Regions from separate parts of the Homo sapiens genome. Here regions 1, 2 and 3 are each linked to region 4. Evidence: promoter capture Hi-C in human tissues and cell types (Jung and others, 2019). All regions are on one chromosome and are shown on one strand. Each heading gives the region's core, a stretch centred on a gene start or on the middle of the fragment in contact. The rest is flanking DNA. Distances are from core to core; before and after follow the strand shown.

The links. Contacts are between HindIII fragments. The study calls those that stand out against the background at their distance.
Region 1: a contact is called between a fragment that was not itself captured here and the fragment with the promoter of SALL3 in region 4, in 4 of the 25 tissues and cell types used here (H1 embryonic stem cells, lymphoblastoid cells, mesendoderm cells and 1 more).
Region 2: a fragment that was not itself captured here is called in contact with the fragment with the promoter of SALL3 in region 4 in 4 of the 25 tissues and cell types used here (H1 embryonic stem cells, IMR-90 fibroblasts, mesendoderm cells and 1 more).
Region 3: a fragment that was not itself captured here is called in contact with the fragment with the promoter of SALL3 in region 4 in 2 of the 25 tissues and cell types used here (H1 embryonic stem cells and lymphoblastoid cells).

The regions. Positions count from the first base shown.
Region 1 is chr18:78,129,968-78,133,238 of GRCh38, forward strand. No RefSeq gene overlaps it. Among named protein-coding and RNA genes, the nearest start is that of LINC01029, 140 kb to the left of the region's middle. The HindIII fragment of the contact is 6,643 bases long and covers 1-3,271 here.
Region 2 is chr18:78,452,813-78,455,905 of GRCh38, forward strand. No RefSeq gene overlaps it. Among named protein-coding and RNA genes, the nearest start is that of LINC01029, 460 kb to the left of the region's middle. The HindIII fragment of the contact is 5,065 bases long and covers 1-3,093 here.
Region 3 is chr18:78,375,228-78,378,664 of GRCh38, forward strand. No RefSeq gene overlaps it. Among named protein-coding and RNA genes, the nearest start is that of LINC01029, 380 kb to the left of the region's middle. The HindIII fragment of the contact is 3,010 bases long and covers 190-3,199 here.
Region 4 is chr18:78,978,421-78,981,617 of GRCh38, forward strand. SALL3 (spalt like transcription factor 3) reads left to right here and starts at 1,398. Exons shown (of 3, transcript NM_171999.4): 1 at 1,398-1,936. The coding sequence starts at 1,855. It overlaps LINC01896 (long intergenic non-protein coding RNA 1896), which reads right to left and starts at 1,271. Exons shown (of 5, transcript NR_187297.1): 1 at 620-1,271; 2 at 43-318. RefSeq lists an enhancer at 2,815-3,197. The HindIII fragment of the contact is 21,440 bases long and covers 1-3,197 here.

The DNA of each region.
Region 1 (3,271 bases), core at 77-2,576, 850 kb before region 4:
TGCAGACAGAAATAGAGTGGCTTCAGTGAACTTCGAGAATCCCGTCTCACCCCTCGGGACAGAACAGGGCAGGAGTATGTCCTGGCATTTCAAATAGAGCCAGTGACTGCCCCAAATTCCCATTGCTAATGTCAGCAGGCATAGGTTAGATGTGTGTACAATGGCATTGGCTGAACTGTGTGTACCACAGTCTATGGGTAGCATTAGACACGGGCTTTTCAGAACACACACAATCCCTTCCTCCTGATGATTGATTCTGGAAAACTTATGTTTAGATTTTTTGCCTTGGATCACAGGAAATTCTGAACTAAAGTTGACCCTTCAGAGTGATGATTAAATTGTCTTCCAGATAAGCTTTATTTTTTCCTTTTTGTGGTCTCGACTATCCATGCATTTTTCTTATTGAACATGTGATAAGCTTTAGTAAGTCAGTGAAACCCTGTGGGGAGGAAGTGGGTTGCAGACGTAGATTCTGACAGTTACATGAACATATGCATGAAAGCAGAGATTAAAAACTGGCACATGTGAGCTCCAAAAAGCTGTCAGACCCAAGGCTTGGTGTGGGAGCAGGTGTCCTGAGAGGTGCACGACACAGAGGAGGAGTGAGGTGGGAGGACAGATGAGCAGAGAGAGCTGGACACGGTCACGGCACAATCTCCCATGAGCAAAGACAGAGAAGGCTGAGTGCACATGCCCAGGTGGAGCCAGGAACGCACTGGCTCGGCTGCCACAGAGGGTTTGTGTGTGAGAGACAGAGAGTGTGAGTGTGCACACCCAGCTGGATTCGGGAATGCACTGGCTTGGCTGCCTCAGAAGGCTTGTGTATGAGAGGTGGAGAGTGTGAGTGTGCACACACAGGTGGATTTGGGAACACACTGGCCTGGCTGCCTCAGAGGGCTTGTGTATGAGAAGCAGATAGTGTGGGTGTGCACACCCAGGTGGATTCAGGAATGCATTGGCTCAGCTGCCGCAGAGAGTTTGTGTATGAAAGACAGAGAGTGTGAGTGCTCATGCCCAGGTGGATTCGGGAACACGCTGGCCAGGCTGCTGCAGAGGGCTTGTGTATGAGAGGTGGAGCGGGGCTTAACAGGTAAGCAGAGTTTGTGCTGGGCAGAACCTCCCATGTTGGAGTAAGCCCTTTGGACTCACCTCTGATGATAAGGGAAATATGGCTCCAAGGCAGGCATAAATGATGCCAGTATGCATTTGCTGTGAAATTTCCAGAATCCCTTCAGTGGGCAGCGTTTCCAGTGGGGCTACACGAGGGGCTGTGCAGGACCCGCTCTGGGTGAGCAAAGGACTGATGCTCTTCTGCCCTAACCATACAGAGGACGTGATGCTGAGCCTCCCTTGGATGCCGGAGGCCACCTTCTCATCTTCACCTGTCACTTCTTCTTCCCTATGAAAAAGTTATAGGTACAAGAGAAACAAACAAACAAGGTAAAATAAACAAAAAAAAAATCACTCAATAAAAAGGCAAAGATAAAGCAGTAAAAGTAAGCAGCCACGGTGAGAACAAAAATGCCCAACTGGACAAAACCATCACAGAAGGCCAGGCAGGGTCTTTGGTCTAAATTAGAAACAAATAAAGCAATAAAGCATGTCTCCAGAGCGGAGTCTGAGGTCCAGCAAGGGAGCCGGGTTTAAGGGAGGGTCAGGGGTGAAGGTCTCGCAAGGCGGGCGTCTCTTGAGGCTGGCCTTCCCTCCAGATAACCACGGGCAGAGAGTGCTTGTCCTGACCACGGCGTGATGACCAGAGGACATCGGCCCTGGCCTGTGGCAGGCACCGAGCTCTCTGGAGCTTTGAACCCTCAAGAAAGCAGAGGTGCATGCGAACACTTAGCTTTGCCTCCTTCACTTTCTCAGACCCCAGAACGTCTCCCGGTGGAGTCCAGAGGGCAGAGAGTTCCGGGCACACACAGTCGGGGCTCCCGCATCCAACTGATGGGGTGGAGCCCTTCCTCTTCCTCTTAATTGATGCTGAACTTGAGCTCAGGCGAGATCGCATTTTTGTTTTGTTTATGTAACAAAGTGGATTAATACTGTTGTCTTTACCTGAAGGTTTCGATGAAGGTAAAAGAAAGTTTATGACAAACACTTAGCCCAGTGTCAGACATCTAGAATATTCAGAGCAAATTACAGCTATCAGTATGCACGAAAACCTTCACACACACGACAAAAATGTTGAAATTAACTAGGTGGTACATAGAACAGAAAGGAAGAGGCTTTTCAGATGAAAGGACCCCTTTGAATCTGAACCTCACCCCTCACTCGATGTTGAGCAAATTATTAAACCTCGTTGAGTCTGATTTTCCACATCAGTAAAAATACTTAAGAATGTATCTCACGTGTATGTAGAATCTTGTGTGCTCCAGAAATGCTACCTTCTTCTTCTCAAGCAGTGTTCCAGAAAGTATTCTATAGGTTATATAAGGTACTTTTCCCCCCAGCAGAAATTGACATCTAAAACATTTTAATCATTTGCCTTGTTTATTAAATATTCAGATTTAAGAAATGACTTCCTTCAAAGATTGACCTCTGCCTAGGCAAACTGTTGCATTCCTTTTGGATTTCATCTTAAATACTCAAACTGATGTTTTAAGTGCCTGCAGAATTGGGTCTATTCTTATTAAGCTATGTTTGTGTGTGTGTGTGTGTGTGTGTGTGTGTGTGTGTGTTCAATATTAAAGTAAAAAGAAGCTAATTGACCTAAAATAATTTTCTTCTTGAGAGACTCTGGAGATATGATTTGAAAATGATTGGTTTCGAAAGAAGAGATTATAAAAATTCTGATGAGTCTTTCTATTTTCTTTACACATACACGCACAACACACAAGCAACACACATGTACACACTCATACATGTGCACACAGAGACACACACATACAACACATGTAACAGCTGTGCACTCACACACACGCATGCACACACACATACACACACGTGTGTGCACACACAATTTTCCAGCTTATGCTGTAGTGATCTCATTAAGAAAGATTCTTTGAAAGTAAGAGTCAGTATTTGGGGTCCCTAAGCCAGCAATGACATGGCTTCTGATTGCCTTTTTAGGTGACTCTTTTGTTGCAGCTCAAGTGAGCTGGTCCCACATGAGGCTACCTGGTTGGCAACAGCAGAATTATGACACAAGTGATCTTGTTTTCTCCTTACCTTTGATTTTCTTTTTGGATTTTAATAAAATGAAATATGTAGCTTATCTATAAATTATCTGTCTAGGTTTACTTTTTATGTCCAGACCATTTTAGGATCTATC
Region 2 (3,093 bases), core at 557-3,056, 530 kb before region 4:
AAGACTATAGAAGGTATCAAATAGCATCTTAAAGGGATATTTATGAAGTGCTAGATACTAATGATTGCAATTGCAGATAGAGCCTTAAGTGTCTACCTATAAACAGACTCATATACAGAAGGGTAAGGTGGCTGGAGGAAAACTCCTTTCATCGTATGAAAATGAAGGAGCCGTGAAAACCATCCAGACCCTCCTAAGAGAGAGTCCACAGACATGTGTGTTTTCCTATGAGGAAAAAAAACATCCTTTCCTCTTCTGTTGTGCTATCAGATAAGATGAAATTATGTTGTGCATATTTTCTTTCTGACAATTAAAAAGAAATCTTCCAGCACTTTGGGAGGCCGAGGCGGGTGGATCATGAGGTCAGGAGATCGAGACCATCCTGGCTAACAAGGTGAAACCCCGTCTCTACTAAAAATACAAAAAATTAGCCGGGCGCGGTGGCGGGCGCCTGTAGTCCCAGCTACTCGGGAGGCTGAGGCAGGAGAATGGCGTGAACCCGGGAAGCGGAGCTTGCAGTGAGCCGAGATTGCGCCACTGCAGTCCGCAGTCCGGCCTGGGCGACAGAGCGAGACTCCGTCTCAAAAAAAAAAAAAAAAAAAAAAAAAAAAAAAAAAAAAAAGAAATCTTAGGATAATGCGTGAAGAATTATTTTGGTATAAAGAAACAATGCTCCAATACCCAGAAAAAGATACATTTTCATTGCCAATCCAGATGTATCATACAAGCTTTTTCATGATTGAGTTACAAAGATAGAAAATTCTAATTCATGTATTTGTGTTAATGCTTCTCAGTAACAAAATAGGACTCCTTTTAAAACTTAAAAAACATTGTCCTCTTAGGAGATAATACTGATAATACGGCATTGTAATAGCTGGAGTCTGGAGGTCAGTGCTGGGCTGGAATGAGTTCCACCAGCAGGAGAGCATGCAGGCAGGGGGCAGTTCTGTCCACAGCCAGGTGTGTGGTAGATCTTCTAGGGGGTCAAACGTCTGCTGTTGAGCACGAGGCACCGTGCATGCCAGGCCCTCAGCTCATGGGAGGAAGACCACACGCCACCTTCCCAGGCAGCCCCCAGGGGAGGAGAGCATCGCAAAAATAAATCAGCACATAGTTACATGGATTTATGAGTTGAGTTGATTCAATGAGATGAATCCAGGCAGAGTGCAGACTGGGCACTGCACATGTGCCTGACCGTGGCCCGTCCACTGGCTGGGGAAGTGGTCAATTTGGAATGCCGTTGCGCAGTTTCCATAAAACCCCTGCAATTTAAACTGTCAACGAGGACTGGCAATACCTTCTAATTTAATACCCACCCACCCCCGCCCCCAACTATTAGCTTGAACAAATTGCTCAGGAAACAAGAATTTATAAACATGCTACATATATATTATTAATTGCTTCTTTTTTAAGCCCACAACACACCTGTCAGTTTCTATGTACCACTGCAGTTGAGGCACAACGAAGCAAGAATTACAAAATTACTAAAGGAAGCATAAGACTTGGGTCCAAAAGTCTGGAAAAGTCAAGAGAAAAACTGCTTACATGCTGAGTCCTTACGGAGGACAGCTGGACAGCCGCCTCTCCTTAGCCTCTGCGCATTCTCCCTGCCAACAAGTCCTCTGTCTCGCCGCAAGTTGACCTTTCCCTTCACAGACATTGTTCGGGAAATCCTGTCACCCAGGACCCACAGGAGCACAACCACAGACCCTCGAGTTCCCTGAATCCCTTTCCGACATTTCAGCTCAATGACCTCTCAGCTCTGATGCAATATTCACTAATGGGCATTTTTCTTCTGTGCTGTATTGAGTCTTCAAAAACAACTGTCTTTGTATTAGTTATTGATTGGGCACTCCAAAGAGATTGATGATGAAAAAATACAACACACTTCGATGAACATTTTGATGGAAAAAAAGGCAAATTTCTACAGATGGGAGTACGAAGACAGCTGTGTGTGTGTTCCAAGCTATATTCTGTCTGCAGGATGACAGTTCTGGTGGCGATGATTACTGTTATCTAGATAACACTGTGTCATACATTACTTGTTTTCAGGCATTAATTCATACGATTCTTACAATTTTCTTATGGAGTCTATGGAGAAGAATGCTTACTCTCATTTTGTAGGTAAGAAAAATAAACCAATGGGAAGACTCTTTGATACATAATCAGTTTACCTAATGTATCTGAGGGAATTATAAATAATGTGGTATGCATCCTTTATGTTATTTGAGAAATTTCTAAAGAACATAAAATATACAGATTAATTTCTTGTGCATGGGGGCATGAGGATGGGGCATCTTTGGGAGTTAGTTCTTGGAGAGTTGGCCTGGCTTGAAATCAGTGGCTCCTTCCATGACATCAGAATCATCCACGCCGTCTGTCAGCCCAAGCCCCAAACTTCAACTTGGACCCCGTGCATTCTCTTCTTCTTCTGGTGGCTAACACTAGACAGCAGGCAGATGCAGGCGTCTTTCACATGTCTGCCGAGCAGCCATGGCTACACTAATTAAGGCCTTCAGCTCCTATGAAGACCGAAATCAAGCGGCTTAGAAGCAAAGCATCCACATCCCCTGGAGTCTTTCCTGAGTGCAAGTCCTCAGGGCCCCAGGAAGGGTTGTGAGGGTTGTGAATTACTATCTGAAAATAATAGCAACACAAAGTACAGACATTACTGTGACAGCCTGTGCTTTTTGTTTAAAGGGCAAAGTGTATGAAATCGTTTATTTGTATCAGCAAGCTTTGCTTGAATCTGATAAATGCATCCATCGTTTTCTAAATGCACATTTGCCTATGTCCAGGCTGCGACAAGAAAGCAGCTTTGGCTGAGACTTCCTGGGAGAGGGTGGAACAGTAGAAGCGACATGCTCAGAAAGTCATCAGACCCAGCCTTGGGAGCTGCTGTAGTCCTCACACTTAGATCCCAAAGGGAAACCTCAAATCTCAGCTGGCATTTGCCGCCTTATCTTAGTTAATATTTCAACCACCACCTCTCTATGAAAATAATTCTTCTGTGACTGGTGTGATTGTTTTTTCTTAAAATATTTTTAAAAATACATTCTTAATTGCCATTCCAGCTCTGGTGTAAAATTATAC
Region 3 (3,437 bases), core at 445-2,944, 600 kb before region 4:
CTTTTGAATGCACCCCCATTGGAGGACGCTCGGTGTCTCCCTCAGTTTCCTGCCTTGCATCCAACTTCAAACAGGCAGGTTCCCTGGAGAACAAGCCCATCGCCATCAAATCCATGTCTGGGCTCTGGGTGGGGGTCAGCGGGAGCCCCACGGGCAGGGTCTCCGCCATGGCACTGGGATGCTGAAATAGCAGCATTTGACACATTTAAAACTTGCTGTTTGTGCAATCACTAAAAACTGCACCATTAGCTGAAAATCTTGCATGAGTGCAGATCATTAAGTGTTATTACAGTATTAATTATTAGAAATGTCCTGTACTGCCCAAATTAAATAGGGATAGTCAACGACCTGCGAGTTTCCAATACCATGGATAATTTAACCGGAGATCTGCTACGCTGGGTAAGGTGTCTTCATAGGCCACTCACATTATTTCACATTAAGTACCAACTGGGTATCTCAAAAGAAAATGAACAAATCAGACCCTAATATTTTCCTATGGCAACGTTGCCACAGAAACTTTTAGGGAAAAAGAAAAAGGTGAGATGAGGCAGGAACTGATGTTGATGTTTCCATGATAACTTCATGCTGGATACAGAAAGTTGACTAATTGTGATCAGCATTTTCACAGTGAGGCACCTCTCACCATCGGAGTGATTTCACGCAATTTCTGTGTCTAATAATCTGTGTTAAGTTGATAAAAAAGAAAGTGAAATGAACATCAATATTAAGGGCCAATCCAGTCAAAATTGGATGAATATTTTTGAAAGCACCTTTGACTAAATACACCCAGTCACTTCCAAATTGTTACAGAAACCGGGTCTGAAAATCCCATCAATCACTTCTTTGTGGTAAAGTGTGTTTTTGCAGTTGCAGGGAATGACATCCAGGTCCACGAGGAAGCTGAGAACTCCTACCCCTGGGTACAGCCCAGGCCCGGCCTTGGTGGACGAGGGCAATGTGGCCCGCTCAGCTTCTGGTCCCCGGCTCGGAGGCCTCTTCCCTCCTCCCTGGTGCGTTTCCATGGCAACCACCCAGCCACCTAGACACGTTCAGCTGGTGCTCCCACTGCAACCAGAGCTGGTGTCTGGGCATTTGTGCATCTTCCTAATTAAAAAGGAAAACCAAGAAAAAAATCTGTTTTTTAAAAATAAGGGGGAATTTTTTCATCAGATACATAGTATCAATGTTTATACATAATTAGATAGTTTAATGCAATAATTTAGCTCTGATGTAGATGTGTTAATGTACAAGCTACTTAACATTTTGTGGCCCAAGTTTTCATATTTGTGGAAAAAATATCTCCAACGTTCCTTCCACGGAGGGAGGCTGGCATGAGGCAAAGGGCCAGGACAAGGCTTCTAAACCTGGCTCCAGCGCTTTCAGCAGCCCGCCAGCTGTGCTCCTGGCTCCACTGCCGTTCTTACCTGTAAAATGCTCTAAGCATTAAATAAGAGCATGGAGACAGAGCTCCCGATTGCACAGCCCTGATCAATGTAAATGCAGGGTCTTCCTTCCTCATGTGCCTTCTCTTCTCAAATGTGAAATTCAAGCCTACAGTGACCCACAGAACAGTTGAATGGCCACAGAAGTCATTCACAGCAGCTTTAATTTAACAAAGTCCTTTATGGTAAGTAACTTTCTGTCCCGAAGAACGCCACACCTGCCTAAATGGGCCATGTCTTATCTACAAGTTAAAGCAGAAAAGGATCGGAAGCAGGCAACAATGTCAACTGGGTACAGAGGATGTGGGTTCAAATCCAGCCTCTGCCCCATGGGGTTTTGTAAAACAAAATGGATCAAAATTAGCTCAAAGCTTTCACAACAGGGCCTGAGAGTTGTTAGCTGTCACAAATAATAGCTTCTGACAGTTCTATCTGATGATATAAATGGTATGGAAAGGTAGAAGCTTCAAGTTGGTAAACTATAAGCTCTGTTAATATTGTATCTCCCTAGAGTCTCACCATAGGAAAAGAGTCACTATTATTCCCTTGCCCCAGTAAGGAATGTTGAGGTCACAGAACTTAAACTTCTCCAAGGTCACACGTTGAAGAGCACTTGAACTTGGGCCTATGCAGTCAGAGCCAGCCTTCCTTCCATTAGTTCACAGAGGGCTTGTTTGAGGTCTCCAAAAAAAAAAAAAAGCAAAAAGTGGAAACAATTGTAGATTTTAAGAGGAAAATGTGTTAAGGACAAAATAGCAAAAGAAGTAAATCTATGGCAATGAAAGCCTCCAGGCTGATGTTGGTTCCCTGGAGCGTGGTTTCAGTGAAATACAGGTTCATCAGCCCCAGTGGCTACATTGCAGGGAGACACCTATCAGCTTCCTACGTCTAGAAATTCATAGCCCTTTCTAAGAGCATTCAGATACGGTTTGCAAAATCTCTGTCTGGAGCATAGGCAGTATTATGCCAAGCACAGCAAGCCCCTTAAACTGCACAAACATCTTTATCCCTCCTCACTCCTGTCTTGCCCTGATTTCAAATCTGCATCCTGCCTCAGGATCCTGGAGAGCCAATAGAAGATGCTGGGTGGTGTCCTGGGTGCTGGTGGTTGGGCAGCAGGGGGAGGCCAGGGCTGTGGGTAGTAACTGTCACGTGGCCAAACTCAGAGGGGGCAGCGTCAAAGAAGTGTGTTCCCCCCTCCCCCTCCCCATCCTTCCTTCTCCCTCCCTGCTCTGCAGCACCCAGTATGTGGGGTTACATGGAGAGGAAAAGATGAGATGGAGAGGAGGAAGAAATGCTGCAGGAACACAAAGGAGATGTGTTGTGGGCTCAACAGACAATGGCTCTGAGAAGAGCAGGGGACAGCTGCACCTGTGGGTGCTCAGGGCCCCCAGAGCCTGTTAGACCCAGGCAGCCCCAGACCCCTGCTCCAGGGATCCATGGCACGTTGCTTGGCTGAAGAGCTCTAACAGCTAAAAAGAGCCGAGGCAGCCTGACCAGGAGGTTCAGTCTTACTGCATCCATTGGCCTCTTCTTAAGTTTGGTTGCTCACACGCTGTTGTTAGAATTTTAATAATACAGGGTGTGTGATGGGTTCAGATACTTTGGTCTGATCCAATTCAATCCACCCTTAGTTGGACAGAAATTAAACACATTTTCTATAATTTTTAAATTTTTTTTATCAAGGGAAGACATGCTATCTTAATACCTTCACCACAATGTTTGCACTATCATCCTTTCTATCAAACCAAAACTTTTTAGAAACGTAGTCTTCATGTTTTTTCAGTTGCACAATTCCAGACAACAGAACAAAATCCAATGTGCTGCTCAGAAGGTAGCCGGGCAGAAAACCACCTCCTGCTGCAGGAAGGCAGGAGCTGCAGGAAGGCAGGAGCGGCAGGAAGGCAGGAGCGGCAGGAAGGCAGGAGCGGCAAACAGTGGGTTTTCCTTCCTCAGTCTATTCAACGCCATGAGGTGGGAACGCCACAGCCCACA
Region 4 (3,197 bases), core at 148-2,647:
CGCTTTTCCTGGAACCCAAAGCTCTGACTTCGTCAAACTTACACAATTAAAGGCAGGCGGAAGAACGCGGGCTGGGAAGCAAGCGGGAAGATTCTAGAATGGAAGGGAGCCCGCCGAGCGCCGCGAGCCGCGCCAGGCCGGGTCCGATGGAGCAGGCGGGGATTCCTCCCCCAGGCGGACCCCCGCCACCAGCCCTGCCGGGAGCTCGCGGCCTGCGGAGCGCCCGGGCTGGCCGCTCACCGCCCGCTTCCCCCAGCGAACGACTCGGGGAAGCTCCAGGAGGCCATCTGTGCTGACGGTTCACACCAGACAGGACCACTTGCAAGGACAAAAATAAGAAATTTAGGAAACGAAAAAAGACGTACTGGGGCGAGGGGCGCGGGCGCGGCGACGACGGGGCCGGGGGCACATCCTGGCGGCCGCTCGGGGAGAGAGGACACGCGCGGGAAGGAGCGCGGCGGGTGCACGGCCGCGGGTGGGAGTACGCGCCTGTGCGCGCGGGGCGAGGGCGAGGGCGCGTGCGTGTGACCGCGGGGAGGGGGCGGGCGCGTGTGCGGGGAGCGCGCCGCGCCAGGGGCCGAGTGTGTGGGGCCGATCCAGAAGTGCGCAGCCCCCTCACCTGGCCCCCGTGTCATCCCCGAAATCCCGGGAAAGGGTGGGCCGCGCGCGGGAGTTTGGTGGAGTTGGAACTTTCGGTCGCGCTCGCTGCCCACTCCGCTGGCGCCCGGTGGCCCGTGGTGAAGGGGGACTAGGGTGGGGAACACCGGGGCCCTGCGGTCCCCTCCCTTTCCTGTATTTAAGAAGCCGCCGGCGGCGCAGAGGCCCAGGCGGGCTGGCGCGGGGGCGAGGCGGCCCGGTGGCAGCAGCGGGCGGGGCGGGCGCTCCGGAGTCGGTGGGGCCCGCGGGTTGGGGGGCGGGGAGAGGGGGGAGTGGAAGGGAGGGGGAACGCAGGGGAGGGAGAGGAGGGGAGGAGCCGCGCGGCCCGCGCCGCTTCCGAACCGGAAAGTTGGTCTTGCCGAAGTCCTGCCACCCCGGCGTGCGCACTCCGCTCCGCTCCGGCCGCGAGCCTCCGAGCCCGGCCGGCCGCCGGGGGAAGCCCGCGGAGGGGACGCGGGGCCGGGCGAGAAGGTCCGGAGAGCGGGGGGCACCTGAGCCCGGGCGGGCCCGCCGCGCTGAGCGGCGCTGAGAGCCGCGGCGGAGCAGCGAAGGCGGCCGGCCGACCCCGCGCGCCCGGAACAGGAGGCGCGGCGCCCGAGCGGCCCGGGCGAGACAAAGGCGCCGGGTCGGAGCCCTGCCCGCGGCCGCTCGCTCCGGGAGGGGCCGCCCGGCGGCGGCGGCGGGGGGGGCGCGGGCGGCGGCGCAGACACTCTATAAAGGGGCGAGCCCGGCGCGCCGGCGGAGACGGCGCCGCGCGGACGCCGCCAAAGTTTGCTGCCTGCGCCCTGCGGAGGGACGGCCACCGCGGCCCGCGCCGCACCCGGGCCCCGCCACAGCCGCACCCGGGGCGGCCGAGGAGCGCGGCGCCGGAGCCCGCGATGTGAGGCGGCGCCGGGCAGCGCGCGCCCCGGTCCCGAGGCGCCGCGGCCCCCTCCTCGTCGGCGCGGCCGCTAATTGCGAGCGCGGCCTCATTTGCATAGGCCGCCGGAGTCCGCTGGAGCCCGGCCAATCGGCGCGGCCCTCCGCTAATGGCCATGCATTATTCACCAGCCTAATTGCTCAGCCCCATGCGCGGCCCGCGCAGCCGCCGCCGCCCCGCGCCCCGCGCCGCGCGCCCGCCAGGCCGCCCCGCGCCGTCCCCGCCGGCCGCCCCGCTGATGCCGCTGCCCCGCGCGGGGCCCGAGCGCCGCTAGCAGCATGTCTCGGCGCAAGCAGGCCAAGCCCCAGCACCTCAAGTCGGACGAGGAGCTGCTGCCGCCTGACGGGGCTCCCGAGCACGGTGAGGGCCGGGGCTGCGGGGTGGCCGGGGGGTCTGGGGCTGCCCGTCCGGGCTGGGGAAGCGCGTGCGGCGGGAGCGGATGCGCGCGTCCGGGAGCGGGAGAAAGTTCCCTGCTTCCTGCGGGCAAGCGTCCGCCCCGCGCCAGGCCGGCCGCGGGGCCCCGGGTACTTCGCCGGAGCGCGCGCGGCCGCCGAGAGAGTTGTGGGCGAAGTAAACTTGGCTCCTCTCCTCGGAGTCGGGGAGCTGCCCGCGAAGGGCGCCGAGGCCGCGGCCGGCTCGAGGACGGCTCGGAGGCCGGGGCGGGAGGGAGTCCACGGTGCCTCCGCCGCCGCGCCGCCCCCCAGGGTCTCTGCGCCAGGACGCTGAGGCCGGCGGCGGCGGGGAAGGCGACCGCAGCCCACCTACCGCTGGACGCGGGTTGGGGACCCCGCCGCCCGGCCAGCTTTGTTCGGGGGCCCGCGGCCCCTCCCGGGCCCCCGCACCGCCTCGGGTGACCCGCGGTGTCCCAGCGCGTTGACGCAGCCTGTGATCCCTCGCGAGGCGAGGAGAAGGTCGGGGGCTTGGCTCTGCCTAATGGCCGCCCGGGGAATTAAGCTGGGGGTGAGCGCAGCGGCGGCGGCCTGGGCCTGGCCCCTGCTCGCGGCGTGTTTCCGGGGCGTTCGTTGCAGCGTCTGCGCGGGCCTTTTCTCTCCCGTCTTTTTGGATCCGCCGAGGCCGGGCGCTGGAGACCTCGGCTTTGCAGTCATTTCGCTGGTAGGAGCGTCCTCTTCGAAACATCCAAGAGCAAAGGGCAGGCGCCGCGAAAGTTAAGAGACTGGCAAAGGGCTGGACTTCCCAGAGTGGCGCCTTAGCCCCGCAAAGTTTGGGGCGCCCCCACCCCCTTCGTCGAGTCAAAACCTCGGCCGGCGGCGCCCGGGCTTCGGCGCGCCCCGCGGGGCCCCCAGGGCGCCAGGAAAGAGGGCCGAGGAGGGGCGACCCCACGACCCCGAGCCCGCAGCACAGCTCGCAGTAAAATAATTTGCTCCTTAAAAAAACAGGCAGGCCAACTTTTATGATTGACCTGTTATAAGTTGTTGGAGGCAGATGGTGATCTTTTTACTCTGAGAATGAGACTGTCTGCGAAAAGGAAACGGGGCGGAAGAGTTTCCCACACAGTGGAGTAAAGTTTGACAAAGCGGGTAGACACCCATGTCGGATGAGAACGAGAGAGCATGCTTATGACGCGGCTGGAGAATTAATGAATTAAATAAAATTAGTGAGC